Linked DNA regions of Homo sapiens: all the other regions are linked to region 2. Evidence: promoter capture Hi-C in human tissues and cell types (Jung and others, 2019). All regions are on one chromosome and are shown on one strand. The core of a region is centred on a gene start or on the middle of the fragment in contact, and the rest is flanking DNA. Distances in the headings are between cores, read along the strand shown.

Evidence for each region. The method cuts DNA at HindIII sites, captures the fragments that hold promoters and counts their contacts. A contact is called where the count stands out against the background at its distance.
Region 1: a fragment that was not itself captured here is called in contact with the fragment with the promoter of NFU1 in region 2 in 1 of the 25 tissues and cell types used here (aorta).
Region 3: a contact is called between a fragment that was not itself captured here and the fragment with the promoter of NFU1 in region 2, in 1 of the 25 tissues and cell types used here (hippocampus).

What each region holds. Positions count from the first base shown.
Region 1 is chr2:70,122,013-70,125,425 of GRCh38, forward strand. LINC01816 (long intergenic non-protein coding RNA 1816) reads right to left here and starts at 3,304. Exons shown (of 2, transcript NR_024444.1): 1 at 3,034-3,304; 2 at 2,024-2,413. RefSeq lists enhancers at 987-1,792, 1,793-2,598 and a silencer at 2,925-3,219. The HindIII fragment of the contact is 6,404 bases long and covers 1-3,413 here.
Region 2 is chr2:69,435,565-69,438,832 of GRCh38, forward strand. NFU1 (NFU1 iron-sulfur cluster scaffold) reads right to left here and starts at 1,871. Exons shown (of 8, transcript NM_001002755.4): 1 at 1,797-1,871. The coding sequence starts at 1,858. RefSeq lists an enhancer at 1,727-1,876. The HindIII fragment of the contact is 8,312 bases long and covers 1-3,268 here.
Region 3 is chr2:70,142,674-70,145,949 of GRCh38, forward strand. No RefSeq gene overlaps it. Among named protein-coding and RNA genes, the nearest start is that of LINC01816, 19 kb to the left of the region's middle. RefSeq lists enhancers at 66-425, 436-575 and a silencer at 906-955. The HindIII fragment of the contact is 5,722 bases long and covers 1-3,276 here.

The DNA of each region.
Region 1 (3,413 bases), core at 859-3,358, 690 kb after region 2:
TGGGCCACAGAATCAGGGCCTGGATCTGGGACAGTCCTTGGTCTCCCCTGAGGCTCTAGGCTCCTGGTTCACCTGTTCTGAATCCCTGTCTCTTGGGAGGCAGGGAGTGAGCTATTTGTGTAAGACTAAGGCCTTAGAATATGTCCCACGTTCTCTGGCATCAGACACCCCACTCAGGGGCCAAACAGAAAGCTGTGAAGGGTGGTGAGAAAAGTCTCTTCTTACACCTCCTCTCCACCACTATTTAGTACCTTGCTTTTTTAGCTTTCATGTTATATTATGACTGGTTTCCCATGTCATTAAATATTCTTCAGAAATTTAACTTTGATGATAACATATTATTCCCATTACCCATAACTTCATCATCCTCCAACTGTTCAAAAGTTAGATTATTTCTAGCTTTTACTATTACAGTATATTTAACATCACCTGGTAATTGATCTAAAAGGAATAATTAGGAATCAGTCCCCAAATTTGGAGATGGCAACCAAGAAGTCTTTTTCATTTTCCACAGTTTTCCCACATTTTTGTTTTTTTTTTCAAGAGATGCTCTGCAACTCAGGCTGCAGTGCAGTGGGATGATCATAATTCACTGTAACCTCAAATTCCTGGGCTCAGGCTCCCAAATAGCTAGGATTAATGGCGCATGCCACCATGCCAGGCTAATTTTATTTTTGTAGAGACGGGAGTCTTGCTATGTTGCCCAGGCTGGTTTTGAACTCCTGGGCTCAAGTGATCCTCTCGCCTCGACCTCCCTAAGTGCTAAGTGTTGGGTTTATAGAGATGAGCCACCATGCCTTCTTTTCTTTTTTTTTTTTAATTCTGTTTTGCAAAGAATATCCCTCTTGCCAGCATCTGAATAATATCTATCTTTACTATTATTTATGTGTGTAAATAGCTTTACAGTTCACAAAGCATTTTCTTATATAATGTCTCATCTAATCAACACAGCAACACTATGAAATAAGTTACTATTTCCATTTTACATTTGGGGAAATTAAGCTCAGAAAGGCCATGTGACATGTTCAAGATAACACATTTAGTGTCAGAGCTGGGACGTGGACCCGGGTCTTGGGACTCCCGAAACCATATCCTTTACCGTGGGCAAAGTGCTATGCTGAGGTCTTACCACACACATAGATGGCACTGGAAGAAGGGCAAGTATGGAACAGCACCCCAGGCAGAGTGGGCGATGCCACTGGTAAGATACAGAGAAAGTACTACACACAGTGGCGTTGCAAGGACAGAGCAGTTCCTCCCACAAAGGGCATGCAGTAGGCTTTGGGAAGAAACGTGGCCAAGTCGGGTCTTCAAAGGTGAATAGGATCTAGATATTCAGAATAAGAGGGCTTTCCACAGGCTCAGTGAATGGGAAAGGAAAGTGTGGCTGATTGGGGAAAGCGCTAGCACAGGGAGCAAGAGATGGGGCGTGGCTGGGGAGGAATGGAATTGTAATTCTAGCCTCACAAAGGCTAGAGCCAGCAGGGCCTTGGGATCATGTGGGGAGGAAACCAGAGATGTGTGGAACAATTTGCTGAAGGCAGAACCAGGCAGGGAAAGGGCAGGGTCAGGTTCGTACCCTTGCCTCTGGCCACCAGGGCCAATGCTCCTTCCCTGCAGTAAACCCGATTAATCTCCTCAAACTCAGGTGCCATTTCCTTGGAATAGTATTTACCGCGGGGCGCGGTGGCTCACGCCTGTAATCTCACGCTTTGGGAGGCTGAGGTGAGAGGATCCCTTGAGCCTAGGGGTTCGAGACCAGCCTGGGCAACATAGCGAGACCCTGTGGTTAAAAAAAAATTAAAATTAGCCAATAGTGGTGGCACGCGCCTGTAGTACCAGCTTCTTGGGAAGCTGAGGCAGGAGGATCACCTGTGCCCAGAGAGGGCGAGGCTGCAGTGAGCCATCATCGTGCCACTGTACTCCAGCCTGGGCGACAGTTCGAGACCTTTTCTCAAAAAAAGAAAAAAAAAAGTTGTTCAAGTTGTGTAGTGCACGGGAGGAAAGAAGTATGACAATAACATAGGACAGCAGCCGGCTCTTTTTTTCATCAGGATGTGGAGAGTGGGCGCCTTGGGAAGACGAAATTGAGTATGTGCGGGGGAGGGGTCATATGAAACAAGGTCGGGAAGGGGGCGGGGAGAGCTGGGGCTCTGGAGGAGCTTGGGGCTCGCGCTGCGGGGGAGGAAGCGCCTTCCGCGGTCGCTGGGGGGAAGTGGTTAGGAGGAAGCACGGGCAGTGGAGGGGACTGCTGGAGGGTCCCATCTGGGAAAGCAGGCACGGATGCGGGGACATTTCCGCCCGTCACCCTGGCAAAGCGCTCGCAGGGCTGGAGGGACAGAGTTCTCAGATCCAAGTAGAGAAAACCGGGAACGGTTCCGGCTCTGGGGACTGACATTCATCGCGGCAGTTTCTGGTGGCAAAACAGAGGAAACAAAGGAATGATGAAATGAACTGAGCTGCCTTCATGCCCCGGATGAATGTTCAGCCATTAGAAAAGAGTGAATCCCAGCTGGGATTTGGGGTTCCACGGTGTACTAGAAAAGCAAAACAAAGAGAAGCGCCTACTAGATGCCATCTTGGAAAACAAAAGCAAACGTGTGTGTGTGTGTGTGTGTGTGTGTGTGTGATGTTACATGGGCATGGGGAAATTACGGAAGTAAATACTAATGCTTGTGGCCGGGCGCGTGGCTGACGCCTGTAATCCCAGCACTTTGGGAGGCCGAGGCGGACGGATCACGAGGTCAGGAGATCGAGACCACGGTGAAACCCCGTCTCTACTAAAAATACAAAAAGTTAGCCGGGCGTAGTGACGGGCGCCTGTAGTCCCAGCTACACGGGAGGCTAAGGCAGGAGAATGGCGTGAACCCGGGAGGCGGAGCTTGCAGTGAGCCGAGATCGCGCCACTGCACTCCAGCCTGGGTGACAGAGCGAGACGCCGTCTCAAAAAAAAAAAAAAAAATACTAATGCTTGTGTAAATTGGGATGGTGGAAAATGAGGAAGAGGGCGGCAGGGGAATCCTTAGTACTTACAGAGAAAACGGAGCAAGTGTACAAGCACGCCAACCCCCCCGGTGCCCAAGCTCGGCGCTCACGCGGCTAGGATGACGCCCGTGGGACGCCCCAGGGGCCCTGCTCGCAGCCACTCTGCTCAGGGTCATTTATAGTCTCTCCGTTCTTTGTTAAATAAAGACGGTGAGACACGGACGGGCTGGAGCCGGCAGGGGTAGTGGAGGGCAGAGGGGACGGGTCGGGGCGCCCCTCGCTCCTGCCACGCTGCCGCCGCCCCAGACAAAGACAGCTGCGTACGGCGGGAGCGCAGGGGCGCCTGCGCGCAGGGCCTAAATCGCCTGTCCCGTCTCCCCCTGACGCCCACACACCCAAGCGGCAGCCCACTCCCCTTCTACCCCGCA
Region 2 (3,268 bases), core at 621-3,120:
TGGGATACTGTGGGACTGTAACCCATAGAGTTTCTTAGATGCTATTGGAGAGATAAAAGGATTGGCACCGAGGATTCAAGAGAACAATGGAATCAACACTGAATGGGAATCAAATAATCTGTGAAGTCCTGACTGCCACTCCCCACACTAGCTCCAGTGTTGATCACAGTAAGAGCTGTCACCACTTTATTTTGAGATGGAAATAATCTCGCTTTTCTCACTCTGTCACCCAGGCTGAAGTGCAGTGGCGTGATCTTGGCTCACTGCAACCTCCACCTCCCTGGTTCAAGCAATTCCCCTGCCTCAGCCTCCCAACTCGCTGGGATTACAGGCACACACCACCACGCCCAGCTTTTTTTTTTTTTTTTTTAGTTTCACCATGTTGGCCAGACTGGTCTCGAACTCCTGACCTCAGCCAATCCGCCCAGCTTGACCTCTCAAAGTGCTGGGATTACAGGCGTGAGCCACCACGCCCGGCACACCACTTTAAATTACATGAATCTATTACAGCACTCATGACTGTCATTATTTGTTAATATATTTTTCTTGCTAGACTGCATACTCATTAAGGGGAGAAACTATCTTCATTTCTAGCTGCTAGCACAATGGCCTCAGTTCTTCATCTCTACAATGAGATTAGTTTCACAGCTACCTCATAAATAATCCAGAGAATCCATGTAAAGTGCTTAAACCAGTGCCAGGCCATGCAGTAAGTGCTCAATAAATGGCAGCTGCTACCATTATTTAATTGGTGCCCAATAATTACTAATTGAGTGCAGTTCAAGGTTTGGGGTAAAAATGCCTTTTTCTATAGCTCAGTATCTAAATCTGTGAATACTCTGGAATTTGGAAATGCACTAGAAGAATAATATTCTCGTCCCTTCAGCCCAGGGAAAAGGCAGCAGAATGAATAAAGAGGAAGCACATTCCAACATACAGGTTTAAAGTCTTGTTTTTTTAAAGTAAGAGTGGATTACATTATTCAAGGAAGACATCTACTCAAACACAGGAGGTAACTAACAAAAAATTCTACCAACTTAAATCTTTTTAGGATATACATTTAAACTTCAAGAGCACCATTAACACTACAATGTCTAATACTCTAGAGGGCAAACTCTCCGTAGGCCATTTTCTCCAGACGTAAAATTAAGGTACACCTACATAAATGTCCTCTTAGCAATGTTCACAGAAGTCTTTGAAAGGTGAAACTCAAAGGTAGGGCTCAGGGAGGCGGAAAAAACAAGGGAACAGAGTGGGCTTAATGGTGGTGGGTGCAGGGAATCTAGGGGTCCTGGTTCTCGTCGGAATTCCATCACTTAGAAACTGTGTAACCTTGGACATGTCACCTCCTCTTTCAGGGCCTTACTGGGAAAATGAGGAAACGAGACAAGGTATTTTCTTCCCTTCTGTGTGACATTCTGATTCTGCGTTTAGAAGAGGAGGGAATGCACCCGGTAGAGGGCCTGGGGGCGGGAGAGGCACACGATTTTAAAACAGCTCCTCCGTTCTGGCTCTACAGCCAGTCTCTACAAGCTTCCGTACCGCAGAGACTCAAGAACTGGGTCTCTGAGCCTGAGAGGAAGCTCCAGAGAGTCCGCCCGGATTAGGCCACAGAAGCGCCGAGCTCCCGCACAGACAGCCTCAGGGCTCACCCCCAACTACGGCGACAGGGCGGACCCGCCGGCTCCATCAGATGCACTACCCACCCGCCTCGAGAGAGGGTCTGCAAGGCGGCGACCGCTCCGCTGGCTAAGCCCAGCGGCACACCTATTCGGAGCTCCAGGCTCGTCACCTACCGCCTGCGCAGCCCGGCGGCAACAGCCGCAGCTCCCCAGCCCCGCCTGGCCGTCGCCGCCATCTTAGTCCGGAGTGCCTAAGGGTCTCCCTGACAGAACCACGAAAGATCTGCGCAGCCGCAGGCTGGCCGGTAGCTGGGCGGGCACTGGGAAGAGCCCACCCTACCGGCTGCGGGCGGTCCTGCTGCGGATAAGTGCGGTGGCCTACGCGCCGAGGTTTGCAGGCTACTGCGTCACCCTGACCAAGAGAGGCCGGGGAACCTTTCCCGTTTGCGCCAACGCTTGGTTAATTCACGCAGCACTGTGAACGCATGCGTGTTTCCGTACTTTGTTTTCCCTGTTGGCTAGGTTTTTAGCTGGTGCTGGTGCTGCCTTGCGAATGCTGTTTCCAGCCCCTAAACCTGACCCATTCCCTCCTCTAGGACCCTACTCAGCCTCCAGGCCCAGCTCAGTGACTGCCCCCAAAGACTCCCTGGAGCATTCCTTCTAAAAGGTTCTCGCATTTCTCCTGCCCTTTTCCCATGGGTCTGATGTGGAACTGTGTCTAACCCTTCCTCATAGCTGTGCTTGTCAGCTGCCACTTGGTCATCTTGGACCAACCCGCACAGAGGATGTATCTGGTACAGTGCTGCCCTTCTCCGATTAACATGAGACTTGACTAGTTTCCAGGGCAGAGTGCCAAAGCCCATTACCTATTCTTCCAGAACCTTCCTGGAGTATTCCGTTTTCTCTAGGACAACGGTTCTCAAAGTGCGGACTAGGGGCCAAAAAAAAGCAGGAGAACACGTTAGAAATGCACGTTAGAACATGTTAGAAATCCTGGGCCCCACTTTATACTTACTGAGGCACAATCTCTGTAGGTGGGGACTAGAAATCTTTGTTACTTGCTTTTTTTTTTTTTCTTTTTCCAGAGACAGGGTCTATCTCTGTTGCCCAGGCTGGAGAGCAGGAGTGCGATCATAGCTCACCAAAACCAACTCCTGGGCTCAAGTGATTCATCCTCCAGCCTCAGCCTCCCAAAGCACTGGGATTACAGGTGTGAGCCACGGTGCCTGGCTTTTATTAGCAGTAGTAGTAGTAGTATTTTTGTAGAGAAGAGGTCTCCCTGTGTTGCCTGGGCTGCTCTTGAACTCTGCTGGCCTCAAGTGATCCCTCTCACCTGGGCCTCCAAAAGCTCTTAGGTTACCTCACCCTGCCTAGTAGTGTTTTAACAAACCCTTCCCAGGATTCTGATGCCAGCTAAAATTTGAGAATCACTGTTCTGGAAGACAGAGGACTGGTTTCCAGAATGGAAACAGCACACCTGTTGTTGAACAGGTTGAGGCCACACCCAAGACAACCCTAGTAATTTCTATGGCCCACAGACACATCTAAGAGGGTGGGTGGGTTTCAGGCCTGCAGCTCGCCCGGGCCCGCACACTGAGTGGGCTGTGCCTCCTACGAGTTTGGTTCATTCCCAATGCTGCGTACTT
Region 3 (3,276 bases), core at 91-2,590, 710 kb after region 2:
CCCGCCCCTGCGAGCCACGCAGGGAACCCCGGTGACGTCACCACCCTCCGGCGCTCTCATTCCCGCGCTCTCCAGAAAAGACGCGAAGGTGGTGACGTGTCCCGTGCGCCAGGGCGGCTGCGCAGGAGGCATTGGCAACTGAGCGTCCTGCGGCGCCGCCTGGTGGAAGCAAAGCAGCCGAGCCCCCCGGAAGCGGCGGCGCGGGCGAGTGGAGAACGTGACTTACGTCATCTGGCGGAGGCGTGGGGGCGGCTGCCGCGTGACCAGCCCCAGCCAGGCGCGGTCGGCGCGTTTCTCTTTCTCTTCTCCTACTCTCAGCGGAGCGGGTGGAAGCTTGATTTCATGCCGTTTATTTTACTTTGACTGTTTTCAAACCTATCAAGTTAATATTGTTAATTATAGAAAACGTGGGGGGAAAAGGGAAAAGATAGGTAGAAAATGATTCTTAGCATCCCCAAGCATCTTTAACCTTTCATTATGTTTACTTCCAGCCTTTTTCATGAAACAAAATTGTGGTCTGACTGTATACAGTGGTATTAACTACAAAGATTCCTAAGAAGGGACAAAAAGCACCTTTTAGCTTCAAGGCTAATTTAGAGGAACAGGTAGAAGAGGAAAAGTTCAAACAATGGACAAAATGAGTGATTCGTCCACGGTATCTAATCACTGTTCACATCATCCGGAGGAAACGGGCTCAGAGTCATGCCCAAGGCCGCGCATAAAAGAGTGGCAGACTGGGGTTTCAAACCCAGGCTCTAAACTGTGAACCTGCAAGATGGTGGGAGTGGGGAAGACAGTGAAAAGTTGTGCAGGGAATTCACAGAACTACAGAACCCACTTTGTACTTCTGGAACTGCTGAGTGGGGAACTAGTTCTAAGGAACAAGGTTAGTGCCCCAGCAGTTGGAGCAGTTTGGTGAGAGAGTGGCACAAAGCTGACACTGGTACATGGCCCTGGCCACTAGTTGTTAAGTTCCACCCATCTCCAGCACTGCCCTCCCCATGAGTGACAGTGAAAGGTGGGAGGGACGTTACAGGACTGTATCAGGCATTAGACCTGCTACTCCAAGTGCAGTCTGGTGCAGTCTGCAGGCCAGCAGCCTCCCTGCTGTCCAGCACTTTCCGCATCACTTGGAAGCTTGATGGAAATGCAGAATCTTGGACCACACTTTAAAGCTTCTGAATCGGGCGGCATGCGATGCCTCATGCTTGTAATCCCAGCACTTTGGGAGGCCAAGGTGGGTGGATCACCTGAGGTCAGGAGTTTTGAGACCACCCTGGCCAACATGTTGGCCCCGTCTCTACTAAACCCCATCTCTACTAAAAGTACAAAAATTAGCCGGGCATGGTGGCGGGCGCCTGTAATCCCAGCTACTTGGGAGGCTGAGACAGGAGGATCGCTTGAACCCGGGAGGCAGAGGTTGCATTGAGCCAAAACTGTTCCGTTGCACTCCAGCCTGGGCAACCAAGATGTCCCTTCTTAGGAACCTTTGTAGTTAATACCACTGTATACAGTCAGACCACAATTTTGTTTCATGAAAAAGGCTGGAAGTAAACATAATGAAAGGTTAAAGATGCTTGGGGGTGCTAAGAATCATTTTCTACCTATCTTTTCCCTTTTCCCCCCACGTTTTTGAAACTCTGTCTCAAAAAATTTAAAAAATAAAGCTTCTACATCAAAATACGCATTTTAACTAGGTCCCTGGGTGATTCCTGTGCACATTGAAGTTTGAGAAGTGCTGTTGTAAATAAAGTAAGTCGTCCTGCTCGCTTGGTACAGCAGGTGGGATGGTAGATGCGAAGGGCGCTTGCAGAACTGGATGATGGGAAGACAGGCAGGCAGGGAGCAAGGTCGGTAAGGAGGATTAAAAAAAAATCAAGGCTGGGCGCGGTGGCTTACGCCTGCAATCGCTGCGCTTTGGGAGGCCAAAGCAGGCGGATCACCTGAGGTCGGGACTTCGAGACCAGGCTGACCAACAGGGAGAAACCCCGTCTCTACTAAAAATACACAATTAGCCGGGCATGGGTGGCGCATGCCTGTAATCCCAGCTACTGGTGAGGCCGAGGCAGGAGAACTGCTTGAACCCGGCAGGTGGAGGTTATGGTGAGCCGAGATCATGCCATTGCACTCCAGTCTGGGCAACAAGAGCGAAACTGCGTCTCAAAAAAAAAAAAAAATTCCTACGAGTGTCAGAAAATATGATCTGCCACAAAGGAAAACCAGGAAATCAGAATCTGGGAGCTAAAGGAAGAAGAAATAGGTGAAGCAGGTAAGCAGATCTCTTGAGAAAATTCACTAATAGACAAAGGGCTGCCCCCCTGTGGGTGATTTTTTTGTGTTGTCTGTGACTTACAGGGTCTAGTTATTATAATTCACAGAGCTTAGGGAGAGCAGCCCCTGCCCATCCCCTCCAGCAGGGTATAGTGAGATTTCTCTGGGTTCTTCTAGCTGAGGGCATATTCTGGGCGTTTTTGGACAGGGGAGAACCAGGGATAGGAGGAGCTGGCTGAGGTTCTGACAGAACAGTGTCTGTTGGATGAGGGCTGGAGTATGTATGGTGTGCGCTTGTGTATGCACATGTGGGCTGGAGGGAAGGGCAGGGCATTGGCACCAACCCAGGACAGCAGTCACTGAAAGATGGGGTGAATTTAGGTGATTGGGAATTAGTGGGCCCACAAAGCCACAGGGCTGATGACATCTGGTACCTTGAAAGTCAGGTGGCAGGCCTACAGATCTCTTGGGTGGATAGTTCTTGGAGTTAGAGTTTGGAGGTCCCCAAGTAGCTTCTAAATATTAGCAATCTGGCTGGGCGCCGTGACTCACGCCTGTAATCCCAGCACACTTTGGGAGGTCGAGGCAGGTGGATCACCTGAGGTCAGGAGTTCAAGACCAGCCTGGCCAACACGGTGAAACCCCATCTCTACTAAAAATACAAAAATTAGCTGGGTGTGGTGGCGCATGCCTGTAATCCCAACTACTCGGGAGGCTGGGGCAGAAGAATTGCTTGAATCCGGGAGGCGGAGGTTGTAGTGAGCCGAGATTGCGCCACTGCACTCCAGCCTAGGTGACAGAGCGGGACTCCATCTCAAAAAAGAAAAAAATTTGTATATATATATGCAATCTGTTTTATATATATATATAAGCAATCTGTTGAGACAACAGTAGTACTGGTAGAGGCAGGGCCATAGTAGATTAGAACCAGAGTGTTCTGAGTGGAGGAGTAGCAAGTTGTTGTTCTCATGAGGATGTCAGGGGCCCCAGCCATGTTGCCTGGAG